Regions from separate parts of the Homo sapiens genome. Here region 2 is linked to region 1. The links are contacts of gene promoters, found by promoter capture Hi-C in blood cells and fetal thymus (Javierre and others, 2016). All regions are on one chromosome and are shown on one strand. The core of a region is centred on a gene start or on the middle of the fragment in contact, and the rest is flanking DNA. Distances in the headings are between cores, read along the strand shown. Region 1 holds the start of HPGDS (hematopoietic prostaglandin D synthase). Region 2 overlaps PDLIM5 (PDZ and LIM domain 5).

Region 1 (6,421 bases), core at 3,118-5,617:
TAGATACTAAATGCTTTTAAAAAGCATTTATAACATTATCACTCATTTGTGATCAAAATTCTTAGCAAAATGAAAAAACAAAATAAAATACCTCTTATCAAACTAGCAATAGAAGAATACTTCCTTAACCATATAAAGAGTCTCTACTAAAAACTTATAGCAAATATAATACATAATGGTGAATCAATAAAAGCATTTTCTTTAATGTCAGAAGTAACAAGAATCCCACTATAACATCTACTATTCAGCATAATGCTGGACAGCCTAGCTAATTCAATAATGTAAGACAACAATAAATAACATTTGTTAAGTAGTAGGAAGGGAGCGACACAGCATCCATTTGCTGTGTCCAAAATGATTGTCTATATTTAAACTTCGAGAGATTCTACAGATAAACTGGATCCTAGATTTCAAATGGAAATGCTAAGGACCAAAATAGCCAAGACAAAGAAAAAAAGAGAACAGGAGAGGAGGACCTGATGTACCAGATAGCAAGACTTAGATAAAAAGCCTTGTAATGCGGTATTTGCTCAGAGGTGCATTGTCTTAAAACAGAACCTCATATATAGGACAGACATGACATAGAGTGAGGACTAAATGGTTCTGAGACTGAAACTAGACTAAAATGGTTCTGAGACAATAGAGGGAAAATAAGCATAATTAGACCCCAACTTTCTATCAAACACAGAAATAACATCTAGGTTATCTTGGTATGATTTGACTAGCATAGCAAAACTGCAGTATCATTCTGGTCCCTTATTTCCTGTTAGCTTCATTTCTGAACCCTTCCACTGTCGTTGTGTTAAGAATCTCATGTAGAGAAAACTGCATGTTTCCTGAAATGATACAGAAGCCTGAAGTTTAAAAGCTGATTGTGTTTGAAGATATTTACATCTAAAGATCTTTGCATCTAAAATTAACCACTGGCTTCCTTACACCCCAAAGTATATCGTGTAAAGTTACTAATTCAGCAGATAGATAAAAAGCTCATTTAGAATTCTGTTTGAAAAATAACCTATACGGTTTATCAAAGAACACATAAACGACTAATAAATACCCTGGATAAAAACTTAGACATATAAACTCATATGAACATAGCTATCCACTGCAGAAGATTTAACTTTTAATATTAATATATGCATTAGGAAATAAGCTCTTTTATATGGGAAATAACAGTGTTTTTAAAGTACTATCTTGGGTACTTCCTTTCTTTCTCTTTCTTTCTTGTAGCTTTTTTTTACTTTATAGAATGCTTGTTATGGTTTGGCTATATCCCCACCAGAATCTCATCTTGAATTGTAGCTCCCATAATTCCCACTTGTCATGGGAGGGACCCGGTGGGAGATAATTGAATCATGGGGGCGGTTTCCCCCATACTGACTTCATGGTAGTAAATAAGTCTCACGAGATCTGATCATTTTATAAGGGATTTCCCCTTTAACTTGGCTCTGGTTCTGTCTTGCCTGCTGCCATGTAAGACATCCCTTCCTCTTCCGCTATGATGGTGAGGTCTCCCCAGCCATGTGGAACTGCAGTGCAGTGGCGCAATCTGGGCTCACTGAAATCTCCGCCTCCTGGGTTCAAGCGATTATCCTGCCTCAGTCTCCCAAGTAGCTAGGATTATAGGTGTGCGCCACCACATACAGCTAATTTTTGTATTTTATTTTTTAGTGGAGATGGGGTTTCACCATGTTGGCCAGGATGGTCTCGATCATCTGACCTTGTGATCCGCCTGCCTGGGCCTCCCAAAGTGCTGGGATTACAGGTGTGAGCCACTGTGCCTGGTCTAAACCTTTCTTTCTTTCTTTCTTTCTTTCTTTCTTTCTTTCTTTCTTTCTTTCTCTTTTTTTTTTTTTTTTTTTTTTTTTTTTTTTTTTTTTTTTTTTTTGAGACGGAGTCTCTCTCTGTCGCCCAGGCTGGAGTGCAGTGGCGTGATCTCCACTCACTGCAAGCTCCACCTCCCGGGTTCACGCCATTCTCCTGCCTCAGCTTCCCGAGTAGCTGGGACTACAGGCACGCGCCACCACGCCCAGCTAATTTTTTTGTATATTTAATAGAGATGGGGTTTCCCCGTGTTAGCCGGGGTGGTCTCGATCTCCTGACCTCGTGATCCGCCTGCCTCAGCCTCCCAAAGTGCTGGGTTTACAGGGGTGAGCCACCGGGCCCGGCCCGCCCCCCTCCCTTTTTTTTTTTTTTTTTTTTTTTTTGAGACGGAGTTTTACTCTTGTCGCCCAGCCTGGAGTGCAATGGCGTGATCTCGTCTCACCGCAGCCTCTGCCTCCCGGGTTCAAGCGATTCTCCTGCCGCAGCCACCAGAGTAGCTGGGATTACAGGCACCAACCACCACGCCCGGCAAATTTTTTTCTTTTTTTTTTTCTTTCTTTTTTTTTTTTTGAGACGGAGTCTTGCTCTGTCGCCCAGGCTGGAGTGCAGTGGCGCAATCTCGGCTCACTGCAGCATCCGCCTCCCGGGTTCAAGCGATTCTCCCTGCCTCAGCCTCCCCAGTAGCTGGGATTACAGACGCCCACCACCGCGCCCAGCTAATTTTTGTATTTTTAGTAGAGACGTGGTTTCGCCATGTTGGCCAGGACCTCCTAACCTCAGGTGATCCGCCAGCCTCGGCCTCCCAAAATGTTGGGATTACAGGCTGAGCCACCTCGCCCGGCCAAACTTTTTTTTCTTTATAAATTACCCAGTCTCAGGTATGTCTTAATCAGCAGCGTGAAAACTAACTAATACAATGCTGATTTATTTCATCTGATTAATTCAATCCCAGAGGCAATTTTAACATAATCATTGAAAAAATTACAAACTTTTATAATAAAACAATTTAACAATATATTATTCCGTATACTGCTGTAAAAGCACAGTAAAAAATAGTCTCAAAAATTCTAGTCTCTGTGCCAGAAAGATGACAACAATCCAATTTCAACTCTCTGACAACACAGGCTAATCAATATCCAATGCCTATACTAAACATCTTAATAAAGACTTCAGCCGAAATATTTTTAGTTCAAAAAAGAGAACTTTTGGAATAATTTTGTTAGATAGAAAACTTACAAATGAGGAATTAAGTATTGACCATTCTACAGTTCAATACAAAATGTTAGCCAACGTAAGCTCTTACTCTTAAATACGACACATCAAGAATTCAAACATATTTGGGCATTCCAGACACAGTTTTTTACATGCTTAGTAATTGCGCAATAATCTGAGTTAGAGATATAAAAACAAAGATTACTTGTGAATTTGCTATAGCTCTTCTTTGAGTTTAAGATGCAGATCTTAACTTGCCCAGTAATAAACTTATACAAAATGTAATGGCCTAGAGCATGTTTACACTCCTATTATATAGACCCTGGTGTTCTGAAATGTAAAAATTGGATTCAGACAGCAATCATGTGAGATACTATTGTTCACAGGGGAACTTCTTGCATATACTGACATTAAAACAGCTTTTTATTACCCCTAACATTTGATGGTAAAGAATGTTAATTTCCCTCATTTCACAGTGTCCCTGGGCATTTCAAGTTCAATTCTGGAAAAGTTGCCAGGTTGGAGTTAAATTATAGGACAATAGAGAAATAGAAGAATTGTTGTTGACTGAGTAAGATATTGATTTCAATCAAGCACTGGATGTTTAACTTTGAATTAGCAAGCTGAAAGCTCTATTTTTTTTTTTTTTATCAAATATCAACTAAATGTCATTTTAAGTGACTGTTTCACATTAAAGCCAAAGCAAGAGGAATAACTGAAATATCCTTTGGGAGCTGTGAGTTGAAATTCCTGGCCTGGGGTAAATCCCTTAAACCATCTCTGAAGCCAAAAGATGATAGGTTGCAATTCTTATCAAAACATGGAGATGCTTCAACAAAATGTGCCTTAAAATAATATAAAATATTACCAGTAAAAGTCTTAAACTTTAAAGCAAAGGAAAGAAATTGAACAGCCATGAGATAATATTCTCTACTCCATCAATCCAAGTTATTGAAGAATCACTTGGGAAAATTCTGGAAGTAGTAACAAACCCTGATTAAGACAGGATTTTTCCTCTAGCATTGATTATATTTTCTATGTTAAAATCCACTTGAAGAGATCTTCTTAAATCTCCTGTACCTATATTTCCTTAAAAATGACTATTTGAGTTTCACATATTCGCATATATGGAGAGGTTCTGGGTAAGACAAGGTCAGAGTGAGCACCATCATGAAAATAGCTCACAAGACAGTTAGTCACAAACAGGATATGAGAATAATAAAAACTCTGAAGTAAAGAGTAAAGCATATCTCATTTATTACCTATGTGGAGTTCAGTAATATGACTTACCTGTGTTATGTCTCTCGGGAGTCTGCAGTGTCTTGTATCCCTGGGTATGTGACTGTGCCTTGGGTTTATATGACGAGTAAGTGATAATCACGAGCCAGTGAGAGGACAGGCAACTTCCTTCTACCTAACGCTCTTCCTTCTTTTCTTAGATAAAACATGCATGCCAGGCAGTTCAAGCCTGCGAAGACTGCTGGTTATACAGGATATCTGGGTATAAATAAACCAACACATTTGTATACAAGGTAAAGTCAAAGTTATAGCTGCATATGTATGCCCACTGTTACATGTTCACTTATTTTCAGTTTTACACCATAGGCTCCTGGAGAATAAGAAAACCTGAATGTAATGAAATCATCTTTGCAGATGTGCACATGACTTGCTTCTCTATTTTAGAAACAGTCTCTCCTGTACCTGCTGTATGTTCCTTCGAGGCAGTGTCTAACAATGTGGTGTATTTAACTTGTTTGTTTTTGGTTTCTCCCAGTGGAATGTAAGCTCTGTAAAGGCAGGCACTTCACTGTCTTTTTCACTATTGTCTCCTCAGTTCTAAGAGGAGTGCCAGGCATGTCATGACCACTAATATACATCTGATGATAGAATAACCCTAATTTATAGTTCACGTTTTTGCAAGGACTGTAAATTTGCATTGTTGCTGGTTTATTTCATTTACTCTCATTTCTCAGAAAAGCCAAAGTGTTTAAAGTAAACCTGGTGTAGAAGTTTCCAATTCATCTTGTTTGTGATCCTTTTACAATTTAGTAACAAATGCCTGACATTTTAGAAATTTATTGTTTCACTTCTTAGTGCAGGAATTATTTTTATCTATAATATTAGGACAGCTCAGTGAAAAGATCCAATAAAATGCCTGCCTGGGCCTTACTGAGCCTGAGGATTATCCATGAAACATTTCAATGACCAGCTGGCTTTCAACTTCCAGAAAATTACTCCCACAGGCAACAATAGCAACATATCAATCATTTAATATTTCTTATTTCTAAAGTGCTTTTAATTTTGAAAAATATGTTTACATCCACTTAGTATAAACGTCAGAAATGAAAATAAATGTAAATACTAGTATGTAAAAAGAGAAGACGCAAGTGTAGCCCTTTACCCACCAAAAAAGGATACATGTGTGTCAAAATCAAGTGCAAATGGGATGGGAGTGGGAGCTATACAAAATTAACACAATGCATTTATTATCTTTGACAGCTTTAACTTATATTTTCAAAAAAATCTTTTTATCCTCACCTCAATGATTTTTAATCCCTATTTTTATAAATGAGGAAACTGAGACATAGGGAAATTAGGTAAATTGCCTGCGAATTTTTGTTGGGACAAGCTAGGATTAAAATCTAGGCCTTCTGATGACACATTTAATATTTTTCCTTACATAATGCTGCCTATATATAATACGAGACTGCTTCAGTTAAAAAAAAATCAAGTATACAAAAAATAACACTTTTCTCATTTTGTATTACAATTTTATCTTTTACGACCAGTTGTTTTGGCTGGAGGAAAGCAGAGTAACACATCAAGGATTGGGGAAGGAGCAGCCACTTGATCCTTGGTCACCGATCAACAGAGGCTGCTCTAGAGGCATCCATTGTCCTTGTGTGCATGGCCTCCACGCCAGGAGCTCTCTGCAGCTCCTGTAGCATTCTCATTTTGCTACCTTCTTGCCCCAGTGTGGTGGTTTCATCACAACGCTGCCTGAGATTCCACCTGCCCAGTACCCAACAGAGCCACTTCTTCTCTGTGGTCTTTCTACCTCCCTGGAGGCACAAGAGGGTCCCAGGAGAGGGTCCCAGATCTCCTCTACTCGGGAAGCACAGCTTTCCCATCCTCTTGTCTCTTCTCCCAGCCCAGGTGGGGGTGCTCTAACTCTCCTAGTCTTCTACCAGCTGTGGGCCTTTGGGCAGGTAACTTAATCTCTCTGTGCCTGAGCTCCTTCACCTTTAGATGGAGATTGATTCTACAATAAATATTTATTTGTTCCTAATCTTTGCCAGGTATTGTTCTGAACGCTAGAGATATAGCAGTAAATAAGGCTGGGCGCGGTGGCTCACTCCTGTAATCCCAGCACTTTGGGAGGCCG
Region 2 (6,158 bases), core at 965-3,464, 240 kb after region 1:
AAGTTTAGTAGCTCAATATAAAATTTTTCAAGGACTTGCATAAGATAAAGAGTTGTCTGTTTTATGGCTGCCAAAGGCAGTGTGTTTATGAAGAAATGTATGCTTATTTCTTAATTTTAAAACATTTTGTTCATTTTTAAAAGAACTAGGTTTTGTTCAATATTAGTGGAAGGTCTTTTAGATGTTTTACTTGTGGAATCATGATATTACCATATTACCATAAGTTATAGTATTTTTTATGATTTTTTGCATAAATGTTACTGATTTGTTATTTTGTATATGCAGATTATTCATAGTCGTAGAACATGTATTACAGTTGATTTTCTAGTAATCATAAAAGAATACATTATGATGATCATTACCTCATGTTATGTACTGCAGAAAGCACTTTACATACATTATCTATCTTATTTGTTCTTAAATAACCCTTTAAGATGCAAGTCTTATTTCTCAGATGAGGAAATTGAGCTTAGAGAAATGACTTGCATAAAGCACACACTGAATCTGATTTTAAAGCCAGTGTTACTAACTGTAATTCTATCCTGTTCTTCACTGGGGAAAAGCTTTTCCAGTGTGCTGAGACAGTTTTGGTTATGTAACTGTTAAAATGATGACAGTCGTGTGGCCTGCGGATAGCACTATGATTTTCTCACAGTGAGTTGAACCTGGCAGGTGTTGCCACTCACATCTGACCACATTTATAACACTTTCTGTACTCGTATCTTGTGCCAGTAGTCTGCTAGTCCAGATTCATGTTCCTTTTTCTCTTTTGAAATTAAACTCATAGCCTCCAAAAATTTGCATTTGCCCTGTTTTGAGGGGGGAGAAGTGGAGACTATTCATGATGCTCAATATATCATAGTATTAAAATATACATTGCAAATTCCTTTGTATTTATGCCCTTTTGAAATAAAAATGAATGTTCTTAGCAAACTCAAAGTTCTTGAACTCTGTAGTTTACACATCCTTAGAACAGCACTACCTTGTATGTGATATTCAAGAGACTGACTTTCTAAAGAGTCTTAGAGCCAAGCTTTAAATTCTGATCTGTTAATATATATTTCAGTAGTTGCTAATAATGCCATACCTCTTCTTCACTATGCTGATCCCACACACAGCTTTCTTTAGGAGAAGGAATACCTGTACATATGAATGAGAAAACTGTAGAAATAATAGTTCGGACCCTTTTCAAAATTGTATTCGGAATTGCTAGTTTAGCCTCTACTAAACCATACTTGGTTCCTGGGCCTAGTGAAGATTTGATCATTTAATTTCGTGAAAGCCAATACATTCTAGCAGCATATTGATATTAATGGCCGTTGTGAATATTGTCCGCATCTGTGTTTCGTATGGCATACAGTGAACAATACAAATAATTTCAAGAAGTTTGATTTTGACTACTATGGACTTTCATTTTCTAGTTGTTTTCTTTTTTTCTTATCATTTTCCTTTCCTTTTTCTTCATGTTGGAAATCTTTCTTCTGCTGCCTTCCTCTGTCAATTAAAAGGAAAATCCCACCTAAACGGTAATCTTTCTGTTGAATACATTCTAATAGCATTATTTTATATTAACATTATAAGTGCAGTTTTTTACTTATAATTTAAAAGGTTTTTTTGTTTTGTTTTTTTGTGAAACAGAGTCTCGCTCTGTTGCCCAGGCTGGAGTGCAGTGGTGCGATCTTGGCTCACTGCAACCTCCACATCCCAGGTTCAAGCGATTCTCCTGCGTCAGCCTCCCCAGTAGCTGGGACTACAGGCACGTGCCACCATTCCCAGCTAATTTTTTGTATTTTTAGCAGAGACGGAGTTTCACTGTGTTAGCCAGGATGGTCTCAATCTCCTGACCTCATGATCCGCCCACCTCAGCCTCCCAAAGTGCTGGGATTACAGGCGTGAGCCACCGTGCCCCGCCTATTTTAGATAGATCTTTTAAAAACTTGAGACCGAATATACTTGCAAAGCAAACTGTTTATATAAAAGGAATATTGAAGATTAATCATATAAATTATAAATAATTTAGTAGAAGATATTTTATCCTTTTAATATAACTTTACAATTTTTAATTTTTTTTTTCTCCTTAACCCTAGCCCACCAAGAAAACACATTGTGGAGCGCTATACAGAGTTTTATCATGTACCCACTCACAGTGATGCCAGCAAGAAGAGACTGATTGAGGATACTGAAGACTGGCGTCCAAGGACTGGAACAACTCAGTCTCGCTCTTTCCGAATCCTTGCCCAGATCACTGGGACTGAACATTGTAAGTGAACTTCTAGGTATCCTAATGGATGAATGTTTTTTTGCCCCAGAGAGTGGCATTGAGACTGATTGGTAGTTGTCAGAAAACAACCCCGAGACAGTTTGCTTTTAAATTATGCTGTGCATAACATGGGTAATATAAATAAGACCCCAGGCCGGGCACAGTGGCTCACGCCTGTAATCCCAGCGCTTTGGGAGGCCGAGGCAGGCAGATCATGAGGTCATGAGTTCGAGACCAGACTAGCCAACATGGTGAAACCCCGCCTTTACTAAAAATACAAAAATTATCTGGGCATCGTGGAAGCCACCTGTAATCCCAGCTACTTGGGAGCCTGAGGCAGGAGAATCATTTGAACCGGGGAGGCAGAGATTGCAGTGAGCTGAGATCACGCCACTGTACTCCAGCCTGGGTGATGGAGGGGCTCTGTCTCAAAAATAAATAAATAAATAAATAAATAAAACACCAGCCCAGGAGAGTAACATTGAAAAGTATAGATGTAATAGTAGTTGTACTAACTATAGTTTATGGCCAATAACAGGCTACTATGGAATTCGTTTTAGTGGCTCCATGGAAGTTGAACATTTGATATTGATTGGTGCAGGTAATTGCTTAAGTGATTTTGAAGTTAAACAAAACAAACTAATATTGGATATTGCTTATTATATTTCAGTGAAAGAATCTGAAGCCGATAATACAAAGAAGGCAAAGTAAGTTCTCTATCTTTTTGACAATTGAATGTTTTCCTTTCACGAATGGTCTCAATTTAGTTTTTCAAATTGTCAAGTATAATGGTATGGCATTTCGTCTTTGCAGCTAGAAGCTAAGCATTTAACTTTGGTGCCTTTTGTGTGACCTAAATGTACAACTTGCAGATTTTAAAAGTAGTAGATATTGTCTGGATTTTAAGGCTTGTTTTCCCTAGTATTGAAATAAGAAGTGGGCAGAAGGGTATATTTCGGGGTGCTTTGCTAACAATACATATGTCTGTGAATGAGCTCGTGTGTTGTCTTGCAGTCACTTTATTTTGAACATAAAAATGTATGTTTCCAAGAGGGATCTGTGGATTAATTGCTATATTTCTAAAAATGCTCTACCCTTAAAATTTTTGCCACTTAATAAAACAGCTATGTGAAATTAAGCTTTTATAAGGCATGTTTTCTGCATGATGGAATTAGTCTAGAACCTTTTTCCTTCTATTTCTTATGACTCTTCTATCACTCTTTTTTTTTTTTTTTTTTTGTATTTCCACAGGGAAAAGATACCCCTTCACGTCTTTAGTCCCAAATACACAAAATTACGTGACTGGCACCATGAAGTTTCAGCACGTGCTCTTAACGTACAGTGATTTATGAGCCTTGCCCCCCAAGCAGCCAGCACATACCTTTTCATTTACTTTTTTTTTTTCAACTTCATAGCAAAATCTGTATTAAATTTGCCTTATGAAAAAATAGAACTTTTTCTATACTTTTCTAACAATTTCCTATTGTTGTGAGAAAAGGAAGATGAACATGTTTTGTGCTAGTTGGTAGCTCACAAATGTAAAACCAAAAAAAAAAAAAAATAGAAAATTAAGGGACTAGATCTATTTGTGGATTTGTATCTGTTTTTGTTGTGATTAGGGTAGTAATCTTGGAAAACGAATTATTTTCATAAGTTGAATTTGGTTAGTTGGTTGGTTGAAGCAGAGGATAATGAGCAAATAAAGTCCTTGTCTAATTTGGAAAATACTTTCTTTATATTATTAACATCTCCCAAGATTACTTTTTAAGTTCATTATTATGTTACATTCAAAGTTGATTGTAAATTATTCTAAATAAGTAAATATAAGGAGGCAAGAATAAACAAAGACTTTATTAAAGAAGAGTGCGTGCATTGTAGATTTAGGTATCTTTTAAAGTAGGTACTATTCAGGATGGCTCTATGAAGAGGAGGAGGTCCAGATTTGGCTCCTGAAAAAGGAAAGAAGAGAATTTTACCCCTATTTGCAATGGAGAAATACAGTATTCTTTGGTTTGGTTGGATTTGCAAATCCTATTTCCTATCAAAGGAAATATCTCTAGTGGATATTTTTAGAATATAGACAATTTCTAGGTATTAACTAATAAGATATGGAAAAGATAGCTTTGCTTTTTTTAATCAGAAGAACATAAAATAAATTACAATATGAATGATTGTGAGACATCAGAGAAATATTTTACTTAGTGACGTAAACTACTGTGCACTGCTGCTATTCCTAGGAAGCTGTGTTTTGGGCAATACATGGAAGCTAAATATATGACCAGAAATGCTTTCTGCCTTGTAATATAGTGTATTATATATTAGAGCTAAATTTAGTAATAAATGCATTTTGAAGTTTGGAAAAGTATTGTAATAAAGTTGCCTTTAACTTAGCTTTGTACTTGTTCTGTTTCCTTGAGGCTAGACACAGTGCCATCCAGGACTTATTACAGTATAACTGGGTAAAATAAACAATTCTCTGACATTTCATTTGGAAATCATTTTTAACTTTGTGAGGTTACTAAAATATGGGTATAAAACACGGCAGGCCAGGTGCGGTGGCTCACGCCTGTAATCCCAGCATTTTGGGAGGCCGAGGCGGGCAGATCACCTGAGGTTGGGAGTTCAAGACCAGACTAACCAACATGGAGAAACCCCATCTCTACTAAACATACAAAATTAGCCGGGCATGGTGGCGCATGCCTGTAATCCCAGGTACTCGGGAGGCTGAGGCAGGAGAATCGCTTGAACCCGGGAGGCGAAGGTTGCGGTGAGCCGAGATTGCACCATTGCATTCCAGCCTGGGCAACAAGAGCGAAACTCCATCTCTAAATAAATAAATAAATAAATAAATAAATAAATAAATAAATAAGACACAGTAAAGGATCATGTTTGATTTTCCCCCTGAATTATTACAATATGTAGTATCCTATGTGAGTAACATAAAATCAGTTGACTATTGTGCAACATAGAATTATTGTTTGTGTGAAATTACCGCTGAAGGACCTTGCCTACATTCAAGGGTCTATTTTTATTTTTCCAGGTATTCTTTCACATTAGTGACATTATAGTCTAGTACAACTGCTTGATAATTTGGAGAAACTAACATTAATTTTAGATAGTGATTGATAAAATTTGGCCTGCCAAATGCATTTTAAAAATAATTCTAGGATTTATCTATGCTCATTTCTAGTATACCTCATGATATATAAGACATCTTTCTTTTGTCATATCAGTTCTTCAGATACTAAGACAGAGGTCCTGCCTGCTTGTGTTTTTATGATGCTGACATCAATCCCAGTTATAACTGTGTCTCTGGCCTCTGTAAGAAAATCTACTTTCTTAGACCAGGCTTTCCTATACCCAGTAATTCTTCCAGGATCCTAAAAGATGATGTCTGAGAGACGATGGAATTAAAGCCTCATAAAAATAAATGGTGTGGTAGAGTAAACATGGTATTTTCCACCAAGAATCCAATTTCTAGAATAACTACAGAGTTGACAGAAAGAAGACTCAAAAGAATTTTAGGTAAATGGGAAAAATTTTCCCTAATACAGACAAGAGAACATGTATAGAGTTACAACTTAAAACAGATGTAGTTAAAATAAAAATTTATTACCTTGCTTAATTAAAAATGAAGTATTTAGTGTTTCATTAAAAGCATAGACTTAGATAAATGGAATGATCCATACTTGAGTGTGAGGATAAATATTCAGCCAGGATCATAAAGGACATTCCATTTGACCCTGTCAGAAGATGAATTCCTGAGTTCAGTGAATCTCCTGGGACATTTTATATTCCTAGCTTAAATGCTAGCCAAAAATTATAAAAGCTTCTTGCAAAAATATTATTGTAAATCTAGTGACCTAATTTATGACTTGTTTTTGTTTGTCTCTCTTAT

The links. The method cuts DNA at HindIII sites, captures the fragments that hold promoters and counts their contacts. A CHiCAGO score of 5 or more calls a contact.
Region 2: a contact is called between a fragment that was not itself captured here and the fragment with the promoter of HPGDS in region 1, in 2 of 17 cell types (megakaryocytes and M0 macrophages). The highest score is 5.1, in megakaryocytes.

Annotation. Positions count from the first base shown.
Region 1 is chr4:94,338,469-94,344,889 of GRCh38, forward strand. It overlaps HPGDS (hematopoietic prostaglandin D synthase), which reads right to left and starts at 4,368. Exons shown (of 6, transcript NM_014485.3): 1 at 4,327-4,368. The HindIII fragment of the contact is 10,951 bases long and covers 1-6,421 here.
Region 2 is chr4:94,583,478-94,589,635 of GRCh38, forward strand. PDLIM5 (PDZ and LIM domain 5) reads left to right here. Exons shown (of 13, transcript NM_006457.5): 6 at 2,088-2,260; 7 at 2,931-2,967. Among named protein-coding and RNA genes, the nearest start is that of PDLIM5, 130 kb to the left of the region's middle. The HindIII fragment of the contact is 2,366 bases long and covers 1,032-3,397 here.